Linked DNA regions of Homo sapiens: region 1 is linked to region 2. Evidence: promoter capture Hi-C in 16 types of primary human blood cells and fetal thymus (Javierre and others, 2016). All regions are on one chromosome and are shown on one strand. The core of a region is centred on a gene start or on the middle of the fragment in contact, and the rest is flanking DNA. Distances in the headings are between cores, read along the strand shown.

The links. Contacts are between HindIII fragments. The CHiCAGO score rates a contact against its expected background, and 5 or more counts as called.
Region 1: a contact is called between a fragment that was not itself captured here and the fragment with the promoter of OGDH in region 2, in 2 of 17 cell types (fetal thymus and activated CD4 T cells). The highest score is 7.2, in fetal thymus.

What each region holds. Positions count from the first base shown.
Region 1 is chr7:45,128,548-45,136,176 of GRCh38, reverse strand. No RefSeq gene overlaps it. Among named protein-coding and RNA genes, the nearest start is that of TBRG4, 21 kb to the right of the region's middle. RefSeq lists an enhancer at 1,856-2,356. The HindIII fragment of the contact is 5,554 bases long and covers 817-6,370 here.
Region 2 is chr7:44,601,688-44,608,754 of GRCh38, reverse strand. It overlaps OGDH (oxoglutarate dehydrogenase), which reads right to left and starts at 2,128. Exons shown (of 23, transcript NM_002541.4): 1 at 2,102-2,128. RefSeq lists enhancers at 1,139-1,478, 1,154-1,717, 1,969-2,568 and a silencer at 1,699-1,928. The HindIII fragment of the contact is 8,395 bases long and covers 1,482-7,067 here.

The DNA.
Region 1 (7,629 bases), core at 2,344-4,843, 530 kb before region 2:
GCTAGTCTCTTTCTGAGCAGTGGAGACGCTCGGCAAAAATTGGTCAAGATTAGTATCACCAATAGACATTGCCAAAAGAAAACTGGCAGAGCTGCATTAAAAATCAGGTGAAATGTTGTCCTCTTACATCTTACTGGGCTTTGGCGTCTAGACCTCCAGTCCAAGGACAGGGCCAGAAACAAAGCTCATCTTCAGGCTAATTCCCTGGAACTGGAAATGCCTCCAGAGCAAAAGCAGCTTGGAACGTCTAGGCTCACCCCGCTGGGTTCTTGTCTTCTTCCAGATCTTGCTAGCTTTTTGATGCTTTCAGTAAGACTTTTGGGGGCTATTATTGTTCAGCTTCTTGAGTCATCCTCAGAGGGGAAGTTGATCTGGATTGCCTAGCTGCCAAAGGTCTTTCTTCTGATTCCTCAGGAGAAACCAGGGAGAGACTGAATATCAAATAGGACAATAGCCAGGCCATACATATGAGTAGAACTTGTCCCATAGTCTGCAGCAACCAGCCGGGATGCCAGCCTGCTATTCCTATGCAGCCAAATGCATAGGAAGTCAGACCACTCTCTCTAGCAACGATCCTGGAAGGCCAAACAATAACCCCTCTAACAATCGGCCCCAAATGGCCAGAACTTGATTAATAACTGGCAGCTTCCCTAATTTTTGTCCCTGCTTCCAACTTAGGACCAGCCAGAAACAAAACAAATATGCTCTTCTAACCAATCACATAGGCAGCCCCCTTTCTAGTGAGCTGCCCCAGCTTCCCCGGGCTGGCTGCCTCCATCAGGGCTCACCTGAGCCTCCCTTTTCCACTGTGAAGCTTTCCCTCCCTTTCCCTCTGCCTGCCTGTGAGTCTTGGCCAAATGCAGTGATGGCGGCCAGCCCCCTTGCTAGAGCAGCTCTAGATGAAGAGATTTTGCCTGTTCTCATGTGGGTGGTCTTTCTGTATTCCCACACCAGAAAGCTAGCTTTTAATGGTCCTCTAATGTTAGCAAAGAAAATAAAATTGCAAAATGTCATGGGGGTAAGTAGGCTGAAGGACCGCCATGTCTGCAGAGCATGGCGGGAGCCACTGAAATCTTTCTAGTAGGCTAGAGCACCCAGCTCTGCCACCGCTAGAGAAAGGACGGCCAAGGGGGCTTCTCCCAGAAACCTCATCTCAGAACCAGGCCTCAGTAGGGCCTTAGGCCCACTGTGGGTCTCTGACCCTGTACGACATGAGTAGTGTGGGACAGCAGTCTGGGCCACTTTTCTAAGAAGACAGAGCAGGGTGGTGCTCTGACTCCCAGCCTGGCCCTGGGGCTCCAGAGGCCAAGGGTAGTCCCAGGGCCACTCCCCAATCCCAGTGTGATACTGGCAAGTCCCTGACCAAGCTGAGCTTCAAGGCCCCCAGCTGTAAAGAAGGGGGCCCCTTGGCTGGAACAGTGAAAAGCCACTCCATTCAGGGCTCATTACCTCCTCATTCTCTACCCAAGGCATTGACCTGAGCCTCAGAATCTCCCCAGGGTCAGTGTTTCTGCAGAGTAGGGGCATCAGCTGGAAATCAAGAGTTTATGGAGATGTAGAGGCCAGGCCTGCTGCCCTCCCTTCTACAACCCCACCCCTGCTGGACTTTCCCTTCTCAGCCCAGGAGACCCAGGCCCCGGTCCCACATACCTTCCTCCCAGGCCCAGTGCCTACCTTTGTCCAGGCTCCCCTTCTCCTCTCCTCCCACCTCCCTGTCAACTGGCAAAGGGCCTTTCTAAAACGTGTCTGATCCTGCCTTGCCACCCTGACCCCTGGCCTGGCCCCCATGGCTCTCCATGGTCCAGCCCTGCCAGCCTCCCCAGCCCTCTCCCACCTCAGTGTTGGAGAAAATGACTCCCCAAAAAGACCCTGTTTCTCTGCACCTGCCAGGCTGCATGATATCTCAGCCTAGGACCATCCATGCTCCTTGCGTCCTTGTGTAGCGCTGGACTCTTCTGAAAGCTCGGGGGCGACTCCCTGTCAGAAGCCTCGCAGCTGGGGAGGAGCCTCTGTGGGTATGCACCTGGGGTCTGCATTTCATGTGCCTGTGCCCCTGGCCACACACAAGTGTTAGCAAATGGACCACAAGTGAACAAGCTGGACAGAGATGACACCATGAGGCCTTAGCCACCAGGGCTGCGCCCAGCATCCTCTGCAGCCCTGCTCTACCTGCTGTGGTCCAGGGCAGAAACAGAGCCAGTGGGACATCCAACCCACCTGCCAATGACCACAGGCCCATGAGGCCCACGGTTCTGCTAGGTACAAGAGAAGGGGCAGAGGGCCCACTGCAGCCTCACAGCCTTGCAGCCCTGGAGTAGGAGGTGGCAGTAGAGCTTTGAAAGATGGGAGGAGAGAACTTTCTAAGCAGGAGCTAGAGGCAGGAGGTGTAGCAACTGTATGCAGGGACATGACTTGGTGAGACAGGAGATGTAGGAAGGGTGTCAGAGCAGACAGACCATGATGAGGGCAGAGGGCTGAGGGCAGGACCTGCACCCAGGGTCGGGACCCCTATAATGAGAGTGAGACCTTCACCGAAGGGTCATGACCCCAATGACAAGGACAGGACATTCACCCAGGAGTCCTGACTCTGATGACAAGGGCTGAGGACCTGCACCAGGGTTGTGACCCTGATGACAAGCATGAGACCTTCACGTGATCAGAGGCCGTGACCCTGATTGCAAGGGCTGAAGGCAGGTCATGTACCCAGGGCCTGTGGCAGTCACCACAAGACCAGGACACACCTGTGGAATAGCATGGCCTCCTCCATCCCTGTCTTTACTCAGAGTTTTGGAGAAAATCCTGACCCAGCTGACCCCATAGGACCAGGAGTGGGGACAGTGTGCTCCAGATGACCACAACCCGGGGCCTCATTTCCCCATCAATCCTGGGCACACAGGAGCTGCTGGGGAGTGAAAGAGCCTGTGCATCTTAGAAGATGATAGGCTGGAGCCAGGCAAGCCAGGGGCCAACAACCTTCCCCTGGGCGCAAGAAGAACCCTACATTCCTTGCCTCTGGGGCTGGTGAGCCTGGAGGAATGGCATTCCTGGAACCCTCTGGCTTCTCCATTTGGCCCTGAGGGCTCTAAGGGCAGCTGTGCACCTAACCCGAACTCCTTGTCCTGCCAACACCTCTCACTCCTCCCCACTGCCCCCCACCAGCCACACAGAACATGTGTTCCCTCCTGGCCCCCCGGGCCCCAGCTCCCTCTGGTAGTTGGAATAGGTCTCATTATTACCCCATTTTACAAATGAGGAAGGAGTAAGCTGCTCAAGGTCACACAACTAGCACAGCCAAGACTAGATTCACACAGGCATGCACTCAAACGCTTCCTCTAGGCCACTTCATTCAAGGTCATGAAGGGCATGAATGCCACACCCCAGCATTTGGACTTCTCCCCCCAGGTAATGGGAAACCGCCGAAGAGTTTCAGATGGGGTTGTGATAGGATCATGCCCAGGCGTGAAAGGCCATGCTGGACAGAGCATTGACAACTAACTGGAAAGTGGGGAGGCCTGATATAGTCTTCCCTCCCTCCATCCCTGCCTCCTTCCCTCCCTCTCCCACCTCCTCCCTCCCTCCTCCCCTCTCTCCTTCCCTCCCTCCCTCCCTCTCCTCCTTCCTCCCTCCCTTCCTCCTTTTTTCCCTCCCTTCCTTCCCATTAAAGGCTAATGCCCCAGATGCTGCAAATGTGCTGTTCAACAAGATGAGAGAGGTCCTGTGCTCTGGAGGACAGTATACAGGACATCTCATGAACAAATCAGATCGTCTGTAGTCAGACAAGTGTGTTAAGGCGGTTGTTGCAGTGGCCGATGCCACAACAGCCCATCCCAGGGCAGCAGCCCAGAAGAGCTGACAGGAACACACTCAAGAGGGTTTTGGAGGGGCATCCACCAGTGGCCCAACCTCTTGGTAACTGATTAGATGGAGAAACACAAAAGGGAGGCCCTCCAAGTCTCTGGCTGTGAGGAACCATTCCCAGGGAAAGGAGATGTGGGAGGAGGCCAAGTTCTGCATTGGCAACAGTGGGCAGATGTGGGTCCAAGGCCTCTGAAGGCTGAACAGATGGGCGTGCTCCGGACCAGGCAGGGCCCTGGTTGTGCCTGGGAGCTGCTGCCAGGGATGCAGGGGTGGGGGCTAGGGCAGGGGCTCAGGGAGCGTGGGCGGATGCTTCCCACAGGATGAGGGGAGGGGAGAGCAGAGAAAGGGGATAGTGGCAGTGCCATAGACATTCCCTGAGGAGTGAGGACTATAGAGGGACAAGAAACAGGAGGGAGGCTGGGGGAGCTGGGGTGCAGGGGCAGTTTGAAGGAGGACTGCAGAGGCTGGACACCACTGAGAAGGAAAGACCCAGCCAACCTGAGCTCATGGAACTAGCAGTTACTTTACGCGTAGAATAATTTTATCTGTAGGAAAACAGCCCTGGGATTTCCAACTTCATATGAAAGTAGTAGGGGATTGGCCAGGCGTGGTGGCTCATGCCTGTAATCCCAGCACTTTGGGAGGCTGAGGCGAGTGGACCACCTGAGGTCAGGAGTTCAAGACCAGCCTGGCCAACATGGCAAAACCCCGTCTGTACTAAAAAATACAAAAATTAGCCGGGTGTGGTGGTGGGAGCCTGTAATCCCAGCTACTCGGGAGTCTGAGGCAGGGAGAATTGCTTGAACCCAGGAGGCAGAGGTTGCAGTGATCTGAGATTGCACCACTGCACTCCAAACCGGGTGACAGTGAGACTCTGTCTCAAAAAAAAAAGAAAGTAGTTGGGGTTGAAACAACACGATGTTTCAGATTTAAATTCCAACAACAACACAAACAATAGTAACATGAGTCCGACAAAATGTTGACAAGGTTAATCTAGACCATCGGTCTGTGAGTACCTATTGAACTATTATTTTTACTTTGCTGTATGTTTAAAATTATCATAATAAAAAGTAAAAATAAAAGCCTCCACCATCACCCATCGACCTATCTACCCAGTGGGCAGGATGAGCGTGTCTGCTCATGAGGTGTCGGGGACCAGCCCTGCATACCCAGGTGTGCCAGCAGGGACTGGGAATCGGGCCAGATGCTTGGAGGACACTTGGGCGGGGCCTCCCATGTGGGCGAAACATGGACCCTTTGGCCCAGCATCTCCGCCTCTACACTGGTACCCTGCAGAGCTCCCTGCCCACATGCCGAAAGCTGGGGTCTTCTGTGGTAGCAAAGAATCAGAAACAACCTAAATGTCCATCAATAGGAGACTAGCAATTATGTGGACACATCCATACCGAGGGGACTAAGCCGCCACTCAGAAGCAGGCGTGTGTCATTAAAACCCAGCCAAACTGAGCTCACAGAACTAGCTCAGTTTGGCTGAGCTAAATGGATGTTCCCCAAATGGAAAAAAAAAAAAAAAAAGGAGGGGGAGACAGTGTGCACATAAGTCGCATTTCTAAGGAGAACGGACCTGCACATCCATACTTGAACAGGCTTGATCATCTCTGAAGAGAGTAGGAAATCAGCCTCCAAAAATGAGAACGGGGGTCAGGGCCAAGTGGGAACGCCACTGCCCCCTGCCCTGCACCGTGTGTGTTGTCATCCTTGCATGCCTGTGGCTTTTCTTCCAGAAATAGTAGTAATGAAGGGAATAAAGGAGCGCAGAAAGGGGAATGGAACTGGGCCTGACATGACTGGGGGTGCTAGTGGTGTTGGAAGCAGCCTCGAACTGGCCGCCTGGCCCAGGCAGGAGAAAGGTCATCCCCTGAACCCAGATGACAGGCAAGAGAAAGATCATCCCTAAGTCTTCTTAAGTCTAAGAAGACTTAGGGATGAAGAAGACTAAGTCTTCCAGAGGGTGGGCACAGCCTTGCTGACAGCCTCGCCCTCCTCTCTGAAGTCGAAGTAGGCCATTTGCTGCTGGGAGTGGGAGGTGGGGCTCCAGGGCCCTGAGAGCAGACGAAGGTCGTGGAAGAGTCCCTGGGGGAAGCAGGGAGGGGTTGGTGGGTGTGTGATGGGAGTCGTGCCCCGGGGCCCAGGCAGACTCTGAACGCAACAGCTTTGGGGCTCCACAGAGTGAACTCATCGGAAGACGTCCACTGGCCAGGCAGAGGGTGGCTGGGGAGAAAAGGGGAAAGCGGGAGCCTGGAGCCCCGAGAGGTGTGAGGGCAGAGGTGTGGATCAGGAGGGGCTGAGCCGGCTGGAAGGGGGTCAGGCTGTGGCAGGGCCTAGCCTCTGTGGGACTTGAGACGTCAGAGTTAGAGCAGAGCTGGGGAGTAGGGGCCAGGGACAGAGGGTCTTTGGGACCCCTGGGGGCAGCCAAGACAGCGGGTAAATCAGGGGCTCCAGGTGTGTGCCACTTCATGCCAGCAGCCCACACAACCATGTGTCCCTAAGCTTGGTTCAACATTCTGCTCTTATGCCTTGAAATCCTTAATTTCACCTGTCAACATATGTGCTAGTAAGTGAAGTCTGGTGGGACAATGGAACAAACACACATGTGACCCACATGTGCAGCAGGCCTGGCCATCCCATGTGCACAGGTCCCAGAAAGGCACAGACGGAGTGGGGCCCTGGCTTCCCGACAGGCTGGAGCCACAGAAGGATGCGACGGGTCTCTGAGAAACACGAGCAGCCCAGGAGCCCTGCCGGCCCTTTCCTGCCTGCCTTATTCCCGTAGGAGCCAGCCAGTTACTCTGAAAAGGACAGCACAGCAGGAAAGGGGAAGACAGTAGCCAAGTGCCTTCCTTGCTTGTCCGGTAGCCAGAGAAGGAGAGCCTTGGCAGGGCATGTACATGTCAACAGGTGAAATCACCAGTGCTCACAGCGGTACTCCTCACGGGGGCCAAAAGGTGGAGACAGCCCAATGTCCATCAATAGATGAATGGACCAACAGAGTGTGTGCATGCACACCAAGGAATACTATGGTACATAAACAGGGTGAAGCACCGACACGTGCTACAACATGATGAACCTCAGCAGCCACGCTCCGTGAGATAAGTCAGGCACAGCAGGTCACACGTTCTATGATTTCATCTCCATGAAATGTCCAGAATAGGCAAATCCACAGAGACAGAAAGTCAATTGGCAGTTGCCAGAGGCTGGGGACGGAAGGAAATAGAAAGTAACTGATAGTGGGTACTAGGTTTCTTTTTAGGGTGATGGAATGTTCTGGAATTAGAGGTGGAGGTTGTATGACGTTTTGGATGTACTAAAAAACACTCAATTGTACACTTTACAATTGGGGGTGAATCTGACGGCATGTGAATTACATCTCAATAAAAAATTAAAATAGGGCTGGGTGCGGTGGCTCATGCCTGTAATCCCAGCACTTTGGGAGGCCGAGGTAGGCGGATCACTTGAGGTCAGGAGTTCAAGACCAGCCTGGCCAACATGGCGAAGCCCCATCTCTACTAAAAATACAAAAAAATCAGCCGGGCTTGGTGGCAAGCACCTGTAGTCCCACTACTCAGGAGACTGAGGCATGAGAATCGCTTAAACCCAGGAGGCAGAGGTTGCAGTGAGCCGGAGTTGTGCCACAGCACTCCAGCCTGGGTGACAGAGCAAGACTCTGTCTCAAAAAAAAAAAAAAATTAAATTAAATTAAATATTTTTATCTTATTAAAATAAGATAAAAATAAAGAATGCAACTTTTTAT
Region 2 (7,067 bases), core at 879-3,378:
ATGATACTGTAGTTTTTTCTTTCCTTTTTTTTTTGAGATGGAGTCTTGCTCTGTCGCTCAGGCTGTAGTGCCGTGGCGCCATCTCGACTCGCTGCAACCTCTGCCTCCTGCGTTCAAGCGATTCTCCTGCCTCAGCCTCCTGCTGAGGCTGGAGGAGCTCAGCCTGTAGCTGAGACTACAGGCCCACGCCACCATGCCCTGCTAACTTTTGTATTTTTAGTAGAGACAGGGTTTCACCATGTTGGCCAGGCTGGTCTCAAACTCCCAACCTCAGGGGATCCACCCACCTCGGCCTCCCAAAGTGCTAGGATTACAGGCGTGAGCCACTGCGCCCGGCCTTTTTTTTTGAGACAGGATCTCACTGTGTCACCCAGGCTAGAGTGCAGTGGGGCAATAATGGCTCACTGCAGCTTGGACCTCCCTGGCTCATGCCATCCTCCCGCCTCAGCCTCCTGAGTAGTTGCGACTACAAGTATATGTGGTATATGCCACCATATCCGGATAATTTTATTTTTTGTAGACGCCGGGTATCACTTTGGTTGCTCAGGCTGGTCTCCTTGAACTGAGCTCAAGGGATCTTCCTTTCACACTCCCAAAGTGTGGGGATTACAAACGTGAGCCACCACGACTGGCCGAAATTGTGCACGTCAAATGGGTGAATCGTATGGTATGTGAATTTTATCTCAATAAAGATGTTATTTAAAGGGAAAAAGTAACTGAAATGTGAAAAGTGCGCTTAAAAAAAATAATGAGGGGCCGGGCGCAGTGGCTCACGCCTGTAATCCCAGCACTTTGGGGGCCGAGGCGGGCGGATCACCTGAGGTCAGGAGTTCGAGAATAGCCTGGCCAAGGTGGTGAAAACCCGTCTCTACTAAAAATACAAAAATTAGCCGGGCGTGATGGCGCGTGCCTGTAATATCAGCTACTTGGGAGGCTGAGGCAGGAGAATCACTTGAACCCAGGAAGGCAGAGGTTGCAGTGAGCCGAGATCGCGCCACAGCACTCCAGCCTGGGCGACAGAGACTCCATCTCAAACAAGACAACAACAACAAAAAATGAGCATACAGTGATCTTTATTCAACTTCCCAAGATCCAGTCCTCAGCTAATTTACAAAACTACAATAGTGTTACATACTCTCCTAGGTCTACACGGCAAAGTACAGTTTGACTGTTGCAACTAGTGCTGCCTTACAAAAAAAGGCTTTATCCCATGCCACCCATCCTAAACCCAGCTGTTCAGAGCAGTGTACCTGGAAATCAGCCTCAAAGTACGGACTGCAAGACAAGGCACAAGGAAACCCTAACACGAAGTCCTATGTTCTGGGCAAAGGGATGGGGATGGCAGGTGGGACGCACCCAGGTCAGGGCGAGGGCGCGGCAAGTTTTCTATTAAATCTCAGTAGATTACAACTCATATCCAATGTCTGATATATTTTCGAGGGAAAATGGTGCTTGAAAGATGTTTCTACGAGAAATAAGCTTCATCTCGGTCAATCTGTTCGACCCAACTTCTGGCAGCAGGTGTGGGGGCGGCGCCAAGGTCTGCGCGGTAATCCAAACAGGCAGTCCCACCCAGGGCCACCCCAAAGCCAGATGCTCCGACGCAACTCGAGCAGGCCACACTGTCTTTCGGACAAAGCGACGCGGTCCTCACAGGCGGGAAGGAGAGTGCGTCCCGGTCGGGAAGGACGCCGTCGGAGAGCGGCCTAACCACGTGACGCCCGCGGCGACCTTGGGGGTCACCCCTGCGGACGCACCGCCCTCTCCCTCACATCCGCCGCCGCGCCCGCCCCCCGCTCGCCCACCGCCAATGGCGCGTCGCTCCGCGCCCCGCGCGACCTCGGAGCCCGCCCGTACCCGCCAATCTCCGCCCGCCGGGCAGGCCCCGCGGCTCCATTGGCTGCCACGGCCATCCATCAGGTCCCGTCCCTCCTACCACCCTCCGTGAGCCCCACTCCATCCAGCTCCACTCCCCTGTCACCGCGGCGCCCGCAGCACCAAGGGCGCGGCGGCCTCCCCCTTTACCGCGATCTCCAACCCCGGGCCGCCAAGCGCCGCGACACCCGGCACTGGGACGGGCGCGGCGACAGCGCACGGTTACCTGTCTCCGGCTCAGCTCCACCCGAATGAGGCGCCGACACCCCACTCCGGGGCTCCAAACTCTCGGCCCCGCCCCGGCGTATGGCGTCAACACGTAGCCCTCCCCTGGAGAAGAATGCCCTCCCCTCTTACAGAGGACCGATTCGTGACGTCACAGAGCCGCGCCGGGCGTCACAGCGCCGACTGCGCAGTTGCAGAAGCCAGGGCCAGCTGGAGCCCAGCTGTTTGCTCCGCTAGAGAGATGAGGTTGTCTATGGACTTCCAGCGGCTTCTGCTATCATAAATAATTTCTGAAAGTAAGATATCTCTAGCGCCTGGTAGGAACCTATCAAGAGATAGTTGGGTTGATGTGAAACTTAGCGCACAAAAATAAACAATTTGAATAACAGAATCTCCGTTTTTGAGATTGTCCTGGGTCAGGCTTTGTGACAAGCGCTTCACCGGCGCTATTGTGTAACAATCTGTGAGACAGGTGTTCCTATCCCCGGTCTACAAATGACAGTTGGCAGTGCTGGGATCTTGCCCGGGATCTTGCCTGGGTTTTCTTGACTTTAGAGCTACCTATCAAAGATAAAACGTGGCTAATTAACCTGTCACAACCTGTTGATTGTAAGATGTTCCCTATTTTAAAGTATTAAAATTTGGGGAAAGGCCGGGCGCGGTGGCTCACGCCTGTAATCCCAGTACTTTGGGAGGCCGAAGCGGGCGGATCACTTGAGGTCAGGAGTTCGAGACCAGCTTGACCAACATGGGGAAACCCCGTCTCTACTAAAAATACAAAAATTAGCTGGGCGTGGTGGCGATCCCAGCTACTCGGGAGGCTGAGGCAGGAGAGTCGCTAGAACCCGGGAGACGGAGGTTGCGGTGTGCCGAGATCGTGCCATTGCACTCCAGCCTGGGCAACAAGAGCGAAAATCCGTCTCAAAAAACAAACAAAAAAAGGGGGCGTATAAGTGCTTATTATAGAACAAAGTTAGGGTAATGTATGTGACAAGGATCTAGAGACTGGAAGAGGTGAAGAGACCAAGGAACAAACTTCTGTATTCTTTTTTCCTTTTTTTTTTTTAAATAAATTACGGTAAAAATGTATGTACTAAACATTTGCAGCTGGGTGCAGTGGCTCACGCTTGTAATCCCAGCACTTCGGGAGGTGGAGGCGGGAGGATCGCTTGAGCTCAGGAGTTCCAGATCAGCCTGGGGAACAGAGCAAGATCTCATTTCTACTAAAAAATCAAGAAAATTAGCCAGGTGTAGTGGCACTCACCTGTAGTCTCAGCTAATTGGGAGGCTGAGGCAGGAGGATCTCTTGAGCCTGAGAGATTGAGGCTGCAGTGAGCTATGATTGTACCACTGCACTCCAGCCTGGGCCAGAGAGCAAGATACTGTCTTTTTTTTTTTAATGCCATTTTAACCATTTTTAGGTGTATAACTCAGTGGCATTAATTACATTCACAATATTATGCAACCGTCACCACTCAATTTCCAAAACTTTTTCATCACCTGAAACAGCAACTCTGTAACCATTAAGCAATAACTTCCTATTTCCCCTTCTCCTCCTGTCCTTCTCTCCTTTGGTAACCTCTATTATACGGTCTCTATACATTTGATTACTCAATTACTTTATGTGGGTGAAATCATAATGTATATGTCCTTTTGTGTCCACCTTATTTCATTGAGCATGAGGTTGTCAAGGTTTATCTGTGTTGTAGCATGGGTCAGAACTTCATTTCTTTTTTTTTTTTTTGAGACAGGATCTCCCTCGGTTTCAGGCTGGAGGGCAGTGGTGCCATCTCAGCTCACTGCAATCTCTGCCACCCAGGTTCAAGTGATTCTGATGCCTCAGCCTCCCAAGTAGCTGGGACTACTGGCACGCTCCACCATGCCTGGCTAATATTTTTTTCTTTTTCTTTCTTTCTTTTTTTATTTTTGAGATGGTGTTTCGTTCTTGTTGCCCAGGCTGGAGTGCAGTGGTGTCATCTCGGCTCACTGCAACCTCTGCCTTGTAGATTCAAGCAATTCTCCTGCCTCAGCCTCTCAAGTAGCTGGGATTATAAGCGCCCGCCACTACGCCCAGCTTATTTTGTATTTTTAGTAGCGATGGGGTTTCACCATGTTGGCCAGGCTGGTCTTGAACTCTTGACCTCAAGTGATCCACCCACCTCGACCTCCCAAAGTGCTGGGATTACAGGCATGAGCCCCCATGCCTGGCCAGAACTTCATTTCTTTTTATGGCTGAATAATATTCCATTGTATGTATATACCACATTTTGTTTATTTATTCATCTATTGATGGACACTTGGTTATTTCTGCTTTTTTGCTGTTTTGAATAATGTTGCAATGAACATTGGCTTATAAATGTTTGAGCCCATTGTGGTACCAAGCAGTGGGCTCACTGCTAGATGCACATAGAAGCCAATACTATGTCATCACCTTTTGAGAAAAGGCTTTATCGTAAGGTCGACCAGCAGGGAAACCAGAGGCAATACTCAAATTTGTCTCCCCAAGATGGAATCTGGGGGCAGGTTTTATAGGCAGAAGGCAACTATGAGGGAGATGGGAAAATACAACAAGGTGTGATCTGTTTGGGTCATGCAAAGGGGCAATGCTGGATCTTTGGCTTTTAAGTTCATATTGCAGCAAAACAAGGCGCCCCATGCTTCCTAATTTGGTGTCCATTCCTCCATTTGAGTGGTTAAGTCCTGCCTGTGGTTGACTTTTGTGTTCCCACCGACACCAGGGTCAGCTATCAGGCACACTTTGTTCATCTGGGCATACTTAGGTTACGTGACTTGCAGCCTGGGGATCTATTGTAACTGAAAAACAACTCATCATTTTGTTACTGATAAAAGTTGAACCAGGCTGGGCACAATGGCTCACACCTGTAATCCCAGCACTGTGGGAGACTGAGGTGGGTGGATCACCCGAGGTCAGGAGTTCAAGACCAGCCTGGCCAGCAGGGCGAAACCCCCATCTCTACTAAAAATACAAAAAAATTAGCCAGGCTGGTGGTGGGTGCCTGTAATCCCAGCTACTTGGGAGGCTGAGGCAGGAGAATCGTTTGAACTCGGGAGCCGGAGGTTGCAGTGAGCCAAAACCGCTCCTTTGCACTCCAACCTGGGCAAGAAGAACAAAACTCCATCTCAAAAAAAAAAAAAAAAAAAAAAACTGAATCAGATTCAACTGGTCCTGTGGTTACACCTGTTTATAATTCTTTTGCCTGTATACCTGGGAGTGTAATTTCTGAGTTATATGGGAATTCTGTCTAGCTTTTTCAGGAAGTGATAAATTCCCACAGTGACCGCACCTTTTTTGTTTGTTTGTTTTTGAGACAAGGTGTCAGGTTGGAGTGCAGTAGTGTGATCACAGCTCACTGCAGCCTCAACCTCCGGGGCTCAAGTGATCCTCTCAGCTCACGCTCCTGAGTAGCTGGGACAATGGGCATGCACAACCAGGCTAGGCTAATTTTTTCTGTTTTTTGTAGAGACAGGATCTTGCTGTGTTGCCCAGGCTGGTCTCGAAGTCCTGGCCTCAAGCGATCCTGCTGCCTCAGCCTCCCATAGTGTTGAGATTACAGGTCTGTCTCTATTTTTTTTTTTTACTGTCTCTATTTTTAAAAAAATTACTATCGGTCAGTCATGATGCCTCACTCCTGTAATCCCAGCACTTTCAGAGGCCAAAGTAGGAGGATTATCAGCCTGAGCAACATAGTGAGACTTTGTCTCTCCAAAAAAAAAAAATTAGGAGTGGTGACACATGCCTGTAGTCCTACCTATTTGGAACGCTGGGACAGTAGGATTGCTTGAGCCCAGGAGCTTGAGGTTGCAGTGAGCTATGATCATGCCACAGAACTCTAGCCTGGGCACAGAGCAAGACCCTGTTCCCCCACCTCCCCACTCCCCAACCAAAAAAATTTGGTGAGGTGTAGTGGCTTATGCCTGTAATCCCACCACTTTGGGAGGCTGAGTCAGGAGGATTGCTTGAGGCTAGGAGTTCAAGATCAGCTGGGCAACATAGCAAGACCCCATCTCTAAAAAAAATTTATTACAGCCAACTATAATAAATAGGTATGAGGTGGTATCTCATTGTGGTTTAGAAAGTATTATTATTTTTTAGAGGTAGAGTCTCACTCTGCCACCTAGTCTGGAGTGCATGAGCACAATCAGAGATCACTGCAGCCTTGAACTCCTGGGCTGGGACTGCAAGTGTGGGCCACCACGGCTCATTGTGGTTTTGATTTGCATTTCCCTAGTGGCTAATGATGTTGAGCATATTTTCATGTGGTGCTTGTCCATTTGTATATTTTCTTCAGAGAGCTGTCCATTTGAGTCATTTGCCCATTTTTAAATTGGGTTTTCTTGTTGTTATAGGAGTTCTTTATATATTCTGGATATTAAATCTAATCAGATATATGATTTGCAGATATTTTCTCCCATTTTGTAGGTTTTCATTTCTTTTTTTTTGTTTGTTTGCTTGTTTTGAGACAGGGTCTTACTCTGTTCCCTAGGCTGGAGTGCAGTGGTGTGTGATCATGGCTCACCGCAGGCTTGATCTCCTAGGCTCAAGTGATCCTCTTGCCTCAGCCTCCTGAGTAGCTGGAACCATACCACAGGTGCACACCACCACGCCCAGCTAATATTGTTATTTTATATATTTATGTTTTTTTGAGACAGAGTCTCGTTCTGTCACCAGGCTGGAGTGCAGTGGTGCGATCTTGGCTCACTGCAACCTCTGCCTCCTGGGTTAAAGCGATTCTCCTGCCTCAGCCTCCTGAGTAGCTGGGACTACAGGCATGTGCCACCACACCCAGCTAATTTTTGTATTTTTAGTAGAGACGGTGTTTCACCATGTTGGCCAGGATGGTCTCGATCTCTTCACCTCGTGATCCGCCCTCCTCGGCCTCCCAAAGTGTTGGGATTACAGGCGTGAGCCACCGCACCTGGCCAATATTGTTATTTTTTGTAGAGAC